Regions from separate parts of the Homo sapiens genome. Here regions 1 and 3 are each linked to region 2. Evidence: promoter capture Hi-C in human tissues and cell types (Jung and others, 2019). All regions are on one chromosome and are shown on one strand. Each heading gives the region's core, a stretch centred on a gene start or on the middle of the fragment in contact. The rest is flanking DNA. Distances are from core to core; before and after follow the strand shown.

Region 1 (2,993 bases), core at 154-2,653, 430 kb after region 2:
CCATCACGTTGGTGATCAGGTTTCAATGTATGGATTTGGGGGGCACAGCTGCCGTGCACCCTAAACAGGTGTCTGCTGCTCATGGCAGCTCCTGAAGTTCTGTCTGCTTTAATAAAGTCTTCGCTAGAGAATAAAATCCCTAGGAATACAACTTACAAGGGACATGAAGGACCTCTTCAAGGAGAACTAAAAACCACTGCTCAAGGAAATGACAGAGGACACAAACAAATGGAAAAACATTCTATGCTCCTGGATAGGAAGAATCAATATCATGAAAATGGCCATACTGCCCAAGGTAATTTATAGAATCATTGCTACTCCCATCAAGCTACCATTGACTTTCTTCACAGAATTAGAAAAAAACTACTTTAAATTTCATATGGAAGCAAAAAATATCCCGTAGAGCCAAGACAATCTTAAGCAAAAAGAACAAAGCCAGAGGCATCATGCTACCTGACTTCAAACTATACTACAAGGCTACAGTAACCAAAACAGCATGGTACTGGTACCAAAACAGATATACAGACCAAAGGAACAGAACAGAGGCCTCAGAAATAACACCACACATCTAAAACCATCTGATCTTTGACAAACCTGACAAAAACAAGAAATGGAGAAAGGATTCCCCATTAAATAAATAGTGTTGGGAAAACTGGTTAACCATATGCAGAAAACTGAAACTGGACCCCTTCCTTACACCTTATACAAAAATTAACTAAGATGGATTAAAGACTTCAATGCAAAACCTAAAACCATAAAAAATCCTAGAAGAAAACCTAGGCAATACCACTCAGGACATAGGCATGGGCAAAGACTTCATAACTAAAACACCGAAAGCAATTGTAACAAAAGCCAAAATTGATAAATGGGACCTAATTAAACTAAAGAACTTCTGCACAGCAAAGGAAAATATCATCAGAGTGAAAAGGCAAACTACAGAATGGGAGAAAATTGTTGCAATCTATCCATCCGACAAAAGTCTAATATCCAGAATCTACAAGGAACTTAAACAAATTTACAAGAAAAAAAAACAACTCCATCAAAAAGTGGGCAAAGGATATGAACACACTTCTCAAAAGAAGATATTTATGTGGCCAACAAACATATGAAAACAAGCTCATCATCACTGGTCATTAGAGAAATGCAAATCAAAACCACAATGAGATACCATCTCATACCAATTAGAATGGTAATCATTAAAAAGTCAGGAAACAACAGATACTGGAGAGGAAGTGGAGAGTGTGGTGATTCCTCAAGGATCTAGAACTAGAAATACCATTTGACTCAACAATCCCATTACTGTGTATATACCCAAAGGATGATAAATCATTCTACTTTAAAGACACATGCACACATATGTTTATTGCAGCACTATTTATAATAGCAAAGACTATTGCAACACAATTTACAATAGCAAACCCAAATGCCCATCAATGATAGACTAGATAAAGAAAATGTGGCACATATACACCATGGACTACTATGCAGCCATAAAAAAGAATGAGTTCATGTCCTTTGCGAGGACATGGATGAAGCTGGAAGACATCATTCTCAGCAAACTAACACAGGAATAGAAAACCAAACACTGCATGTTCTCACTCATAAGTAGGTGTTGAACAATGAGAACACATGGACACAGGGAGGGAAACATCACACACCAGGGCCTGTAAGGGCATGGGGGGCAAGGGGAGGGATAGCATTAGGAGAAATACCTAATATATGAGGGGCTTAAAATCTAGATGACAGGTTGGTGGGTGCAGCAAACCACCATGGCACATGTACACCTATGTAACAAACCTGCATGTTCTGCACATGTATCCCAGAACTTAAAGTATAATAAAAAATAAAATAAAAACAAAGTCTTCGCTATCATTTTTTGGAGGTCAGTTCACCTGCAGACAGGAAACTTACAGAAAGTCGCCATTTTGGATTCTTAGCATTCTTTCTGAAGGTATTGCAAGAAATGTAACGAAACGTACAGTGTGTGCTAAGTTCTATTTGTATATTCATACTCTGTGTATAAAATAAAGATTCACACATGTAATAAAACATTGACATAAGAAGAAAAAGTCAAATGAATAAAGCAGTTGGATTTCTGCCATTTAAATTCTGTAAATTTAAAGATGCCACAACATATATTCTATATTTTGGAGAATTATGGTTTGGACCCAAACTGCATCCCTAAGAATTCGCATAATATTTATTTTAGTAGATAGATCACAGATGGACAGAGAGAGCTTATTGAGTCATACACTGTCAAAATGAGACACTTTATTGGAAATACAAGCATGGATGCCGGTTTGTCATTCATTGTGACTAATTATGGAAAAGAGAAAATGATACTGATTTTGATCCATTTGCTGGAACAGGAGGCCTCCTGATAGCATCTGCTCATTTCGATGCATATGTATATGAGACAGGCATCAACTACAACACAGTTTATGGCTCAGGAAAGGCAGGTAAGAAAAACCAGAAATGGAGAGGACCAGATGAAAACATTAGGGCAAATCTTTGTCAGTATGGTTTAGAGAAGGTAATACTTTCTCTAATACATTTTGACAAATATGATTGACCATATTAAATGTCCTGGTTTCAGATACATCTAAACTTTCCTGGAGAATGGCACATATTTTAATGCAGTAATCACTGATCCTCCATATGGTATTAAAGCATCTGCAAGAAGAATAGGTTCACAGAAGGAAATATCAAAGGGGATAGAAAAATGTCCAGGAAGCCACATTCCTGTTTCCTTGAGTTATCATCCGAGTAATATGCTTTTTGACCTGCTAAACTTTGCAGCTGAGACTCTCATGTTATTTGGAAGACTAATCTATTGGTTACCAGTATATACAGCAGAATACACTGAAGAGATGACAACCCCACACCCGTCTGAAGCTCATTAGCAACTGTAAGCAGAAGCTTTTCAGCCACACATCAAGGTGCTTGATTACAACAGAAAATGTGAAGAAATGTGAAAACCAGGACCAGCATTC
Region 2 (2,977 bases), core at 115-2,614:
ATTCCTGTTTTCTCCTTTTTCCTCCTCTCTTCTCACATTTTCTCCCTCACTTCTTCTGAGTCTGCTCCCACTCACTCTGCTACTAGGAGTGGGGAAAGCCTGTGAACACCTCAGGTTGAGGAACAAAAATAGGAGAGAAAGAATGCTCTAAAATGAGGACAGAAACCTGTCTCCAGGCCTGACCATCTGCAAACTCACTGTTACTCCTGAATATTTTTCATATGACAAGTCTAAGCTAATATTTTGGCCCAAAGCACAAACCTGGTAGACAAGAGGATGATAGGATGTTTGTTGTGGGATTAAAGAGCATGAAAAATATTTCCATACTTTCCTATTGATGTTCTGTTTGATTCACCAAATATTTACATACATGTGTGAGGGGCCATGGTAAGGAGAGTGGACCAGAGGGGATGAAGATAGTTACTGTCCCAAGGGGCTTAGAGCTAGGTGAAGAGTGAGTGGTTGCCCAGCTAATTGTGCAATAATCAGCCAAGACTCAAGTGCTTTGAGGAGGGAGAGAAAGGAGGACTTAACTGGAATTAGGGTCTACAGCAAAGACTTCTGATAAGGGGTGAAAAAAGACATATGCATATACACAGATACACAAAGCCATTTGTATATATCAAATTTATAGTTTTATATTAAATATATATAAATACATACTCATATTTACATATACCATACTCCCTTTCAGTTGAACTACTGTTGAGGGATTAATTTATAAAGGCTTCAAAAGTTGTGGTTAAGATCTTTGGATTTAGTATCAAACAGACCTTGAGGGCACCACCTTGTCCTGCCAACACCTTGATTTTGGCCCAGTGAAACTGATTTGAGGCTTCTGGCCTCCAGAATTTTGAGAGAATAAACTTGTGTTGTTTTAAGGAAAAATAAATTTAGAAAATCTTTAGTGAGGCTATATTATTGGAAGTAGAATGTGGAAGACAATAAGTGATGGATGTTTTTATTTTTAATAATTAAATACATACAATCTTATATCCACATCATAATTTGTATTTATATGATGTAAATGTGTTAAAGAATTCAAGATGAATGTATGAACTTTAGATTCAGAAATATAAAGGGGTGAACTTTGATTCTGACCCCTAGATAGGCTATCTTGCTCAATATTCAGCTCCCTGAGCCTTAACTTCCTTATCTGTAAGATGGGCATAATAGCACCTATCTCATATGAATTAAAAGCTATAATATAACAGAGGGTTCTAGGATGAGTGTTACACACAGTACATTCTCTCTATACATTAGTTTTCTCCTTTTTTATCATTCCATCCTCCCTTCTCATACTTTCATTGGAATTTTGTTGACGCCTCTTCTTTAATCACCAGGCTAATTCAAGCTGGCCACAATGGAGAATAGCACAGAAGTGACAGAGTTTATCCTCTTGGGATTAACAGATGACCCCAATCTTCAGATACCCCTCCTCCTGGCATTTTTATTCATCTACCTCATCACCCTGCTTGGGAATGGGGGAATGATGGTGATCATCCACTCAGACTCCCATCTCCACACTCCAATGTACTTTTTCCTCAGTAACCTCTCCCTTGTAGACTTGGGTTACTCATCAGCTGTAGCCCCCAAAACGGTGGCTGCATTGCGGTCAGGGGACAAGGCCATCTCCTACGATGGATGTGCAGCTCAGTTCTTCTTCTTTGTGGGGTTTGCCACTGTTGAGTGCTACCTCCTGGCCTCCATGGCCTATGATCGCCATGCAGCGGTATGTAGGCCTCTTCATTACACCACCACCATGACAGCAGGTGTGTGTGCCCTCCTTGCTACTGGTTCCTATGTCTCTGGCTTCCTCAATGCCTCTATCCATGCAGCAGGCACCTTCAGACTCTCCTTCTGTGGTTCTAATGAGATTAATCATTTCTTCTGTGACATTCCCCCACTCCTGGCTCTCTCATGCTCTGACACACGCATCAGCAAGTTGGTGGTCTTTGTGGCAGGCTTCAACGTCTTTTTCACCCTCCTGGTCATCCTTATTTCTTACTTCTTCATATGCATCACCATTCAGAGGATGCATTCTGCTGAAGGGCAGAAGAAAGTCTTCTCCACCTGTGCTTCCCATCTCACTGCTTTGTCCATCTTCTATGGCACAATCATCTTCATGTACTTACAGCCCAACTCCAGCCAGTCCGTGGACACAGACAAAATAGCCTCTGTGTTTTACACAGTGGTGATTCCCATGCTGAATCCCTTGATATACAGCCTTAGGAACAAAGAAGTGAAAAGTGCTCTCTGGAAAATACTCAACAAACTTTACCCCCAATATTAAATGTGAATGGGAAGTAGGCAAGCAATTAAGGGATAAACTTTCTCTCACACCTAAATGCCATCATGACTTTTAACGTTTGACTGGTTTCAGTTCTTTCTTCCCCAAGAACAGCGGTTACTTCTGCTATTAGAAGATGTAAAAAGCAGCACGTTGAAAGTCTTACTTAGAAAGATAATCTTATATTTAGTGAACAACAACATGGGACAGTTAAGCTTTTCTTGCTTTAGTTTCTTGACGTGGTTTAAAGCAGAAGATTGAAGCATACAAATGAATGTACCAAATTTTCCTCATCCTGTTTTTAATTGTAAGAATTTTTCATTCACTATTAAACTTGGTGTAAAGATTTCACCTTCATTTTTATCAACTGAACACACAGTATCTTTTTTATTCTTTTGTTCTGCGAGTTTGAAAGTTGGACTTTCTGAGGTAGACAAAGGATGTTTCAATATTTTAAATGATATTTGAGAGAAAGTTGTAATTTAAAGGACAAGGCACTAGATCGAGTCAGGTAGCTGACGATTAAATCTTTCCAACCCCTTACTCTCCCTTCTCTACCCACATTCCTATCCTACTCACTAGTCATGTGCCTTTGTAATTTCCATTCCCTTTTGCTAAATCATTGGGGAAACATTACACCTTGTTATATACAGAAATATGGGAATGCTTTAATAGATGAATTACTTC
Region 3 (3,086 bases), core at 296-2,795, 350 kb after region 2:
ACTCTGGCCTTCCATATCATCATCCGTTTTTCTTATTAACTCCTCAAAGCAATATGAAATAATCATAATTTGGCCACCTAAAGACAGGAACGTGGAAGGATTTAATTTTATCATTCTCTTCTCCTCCTCTTTCCCTTCCCATAAATCCCTACATGCGCATCCCCCCAACCCCTGCAAGCCGAGACAAGGTGGGGGAATATCCTCTGTCTGCAGGCTCCGGCTCCAGCGTAAGACTCTACTAGTTTGTTTTGCCCCAACACTGTCATAGCCAATCCGTGGCCAGTGTGGGTCTCCAAGGAGAGATTACTGCTGATATTGGGATTATTTATATGCAAATAGCCCCTTTCATGTAGGAAAAGAGAAGGTTTCTCTTCAATCTCCATTTCTAAAAGCTGTACACCCAGTTGGGCCATCGCTAAGAATGGTTAAGGGAGCCTGAATTCTAGTTCTGACTTGTCCCATGAGGAATCATTTATCTTCCAAGGTCCAGTTTCCTCAGTCAGAATAATGTCATGAATCACAGGCTCTGCCACCCTCGCCAGCTGTGTCCTGGGAGAACGGCCCCCTGCCCAGCTATTTACCTAGAATAGGTAGAATGGAAACTGATCCACCTAGGAAAAGGCAAGGCCCATTGTAGCCTCTAGTTTGCCCTCCCTGGAATCAGGCACTTCATCAAGTTTGTCCTTTAATCTTTAACACAAAGAAAACCTTAGGGAAAAATAACTAGGACAAGTGCACTGCCCAGAGAAGCAACTGGCACAGACAGCAAGTTGGCATGACCTTTACCAGCTCTCTGCAGCTGAGAAATTGTGGTAATTATTCTTAGCATCTGCACATGCATTTTTTATGAGTCTCAAAATGTCCAGACAAGAAAAAGGAAGAGAGCAAGGTCAGGAGGAAACTCCTTTGACAAAGGTGGAGCCAGGAAGGGGACAGGTGGGGACCATCTGCACATTCAATCATTTCTCATTTTTGATTAAGAAAGGTGGTCTAGAGACCAGGGCTGAAATTTATACACACACAGATACACACACATATTTCCTGCCTTCAAAAATTTTATACTTTACTGTTAGAGGTAAGCCATATATGTAATCAATCATTCCCATACCAGGATAAAATTCAGGGGAGATGATTTCCAAGGAAGTGGCATTTGAGCTGAACCTTAAAATTAAAATTTGAGCAAGATACTTAAAATTGCACATTCCCTATTCTTCTGACCCTGGCTTCATTTTCACCATAGGAATTGTCACCTTCTAACATAACATATGATGTACTTATTGTATTTATTGCCTATCTGATTCACCCCTCTGTAAATTCCAAACAAAGCTTCTCTCTCACTTTCTTTCCACCCCATCTTTCTTACTAGAGAAAGAGACAAAGAAAGAAAACTTGCTAAGCTCTTATATTTACAGGATACCTTTGACCTTTCAGAACAATGTCCCTTCCATTTTGTCCTCAGAAGAGCTCTGCGAAGATCCGAGAATATGTGATTCTCCCCATTCTGCTGAAACAGTAACAAAGACATGGGGTAGGAGGGATGAAGGTTACCCAAGGTCACTCACCTGACACCCACCAACTTTACAGAGATGTCATTAGTCTCTCACCTGGCATATAGGAAGCACTCAAAATATATGAATTATTATTTCATTTTTCTTATGTCACATTTTTTCAGAAAGAAGGTATTAAATAACCTTCTTAGTATTACCAGCTGGTACTGTAGTGAACATTGTTCTCACTCCTCTGCCTTTGCTGCTCTTTACAGCGTCAGAAAATAAAATCACCCTTCCCTTAGTGCCCTACCTTTTCCAAAGACCCAGAAAGGTTTTCTTCCAACTACCATAGCGTGGCATAGACAGCTTCACCAATACAAGGCTCCCTCCTATTCCTCGCTCTGAAACAATTTTAGCAGCATGGATTCATTAACCACAACCTTGCTACTGTTGCAAGTTAGAAAGCCTGAGTTTCAACACTGTGAAAACCCATTATTAGAGCGAGTCTCCTTCCATGTATGATTACAGATAATACATTCAAACAAAACGTAACATTTCCAAAAGATGAAAGGTGATTTTCTCAGAGAAGTTAGGACATTTTTACTTATAATGACTTCTTGTTACTCGTAATGAATGACAATAATGGTATGTTAGCATGTTACACAGTTACAAAGAAGGTGAGTGTAACTGTTAGGAACCTTCTTCAAGAACTCCTTTGTTTTCTTGTTTCTCTAAAATATAAATCAAAAGGTTCCACACAGGAATGGCATGAGTAAGCTATTTAGCCACCTTAACCAAGTCAGTGTGATCAGTATCCAGTTGCCAATTAGCACCTACGTGGAGCTCTATACATGCTTTAAGGAGGCGAGGAAAGCTCTGAGCAATGCTATTTTGAGGAACCTTGAGCTTGCTGTTGCTTTCTGGAGAAACAAGGAGGTTCTGATTAATTGGATATAACAGTTTGGACTCTCTAGTTTCAAGTAACAAAAATCAACCAGAGGGCCGGGTGCGGTGGCTCACGCCTGTAATCCCAGCACTTTGGGAGACCCAGGTGGGAGGATCACCTGAGGCCGGGAGTTCGAGACCAGCCTGGCTAACAGAGCGAAACCCCATCTCTACTAAAAATACAAAAATTAGCCAGGCACCTGTACTCCTAGCTACTTGGGAGGCTGATGCAGGAGAATCGCTTAAGCCCAGAAGGCAGAGGTTGCAGTGAGCCTAGACAGTGCCATTGCACTCCAGCCTGGGTGACAGAGTAAGGCTCTGTCTAAAAAAAAAAAAACAGAATAAGCCTGAGCAAAACAAAAACAAAAGGAAATTTATTATAAGGATATGTGTATCCAGAAGCCAAGCCACGATTACAGCTGGGCTGAAGATTTCCCACTGGAAATCCCGTGAGAATTCAGGCAGTATTTTCTGTCCATCTATTACGCCATTGCCTCATTCTTCTCTCTCTCTCTGTCTCTTTCTGTCACTGAAGATCAGAGCCTTCTACCTACTCTGCCTTGTAGAACATTTAAGCCCACAGTTCCCAAGTTTAAATGTTTTTGGTTCAGTCACATATATAACTCTTTTCTTTTTTTTTTTTTTTTATAC

What was found. The method cuts DNA at HindIII sites, captures the fragments that hold promoters and counts their contacts. A contact is called where the count stands out against the background at its distance.
Region 1: a contact is called between a fragment that was not itself captured here and the fragment with the promoter of OR5B21 in region 2, in 1 of the 25 tissues and cell types used here (thymus).
Region 3: a contact is called between a fragment that was not itself captured here and the fragment with the promoter of OR5B21 in region 2, in 1 of the 25 tissues and cell types used here (IMR-90 fibroblasts).

Annotation. Positions count from the first base shown.
Region 1 is chr11:58,072,493-58,075,485 of GRCh38, reverse strand. All of the region lies in intron 2 of OR9Q1 (olfactory receptor family 9 subfamily Q member 1), which reads right to left. It also overlaps the pseudogene LOC100421793. Among named protein-coding and RNA genes, the nearest start is that of OR6Q1, 43 kb to the right of the region's middle. The HindIII fragment of the contact is 9,121 bases long and covers 1-2,993 here.
Region 2 is chr11:58,506,492-58,509,468 of GRCh38, reverse strand. It overlaps OR5B21 (olfactory receptor family 5 subfamily B member 21), which reads left to right and starts at 1,364. Exons shown (of 1, transcript NM_001005218.3): 1 at 1,364-2,662. The coding sequence starts at 1,364. The coding sequence ends at 2,293. All of the region lies in intron 2 of LOC105369313 (a long non-coding RNA gene), which reads left to right. The HindIII fragment of the contact is 9,451 bases long and covers 1-2,977 here.
Region 3 is chr11:58,161,236-58,164,321 of GRCh38, reverse strand. All of the region lies in intron 2 of OR9Q1 (olfactory receptor family 9 subfamily Q member 1), which reads right to left. Among named protein-coding and RNA genes, the nearest start is that of OR9Q2, 26 kb to the left of the region's middle. The HindIII fragment of the contact is 7,939 bases long and covers 1-3,086 here.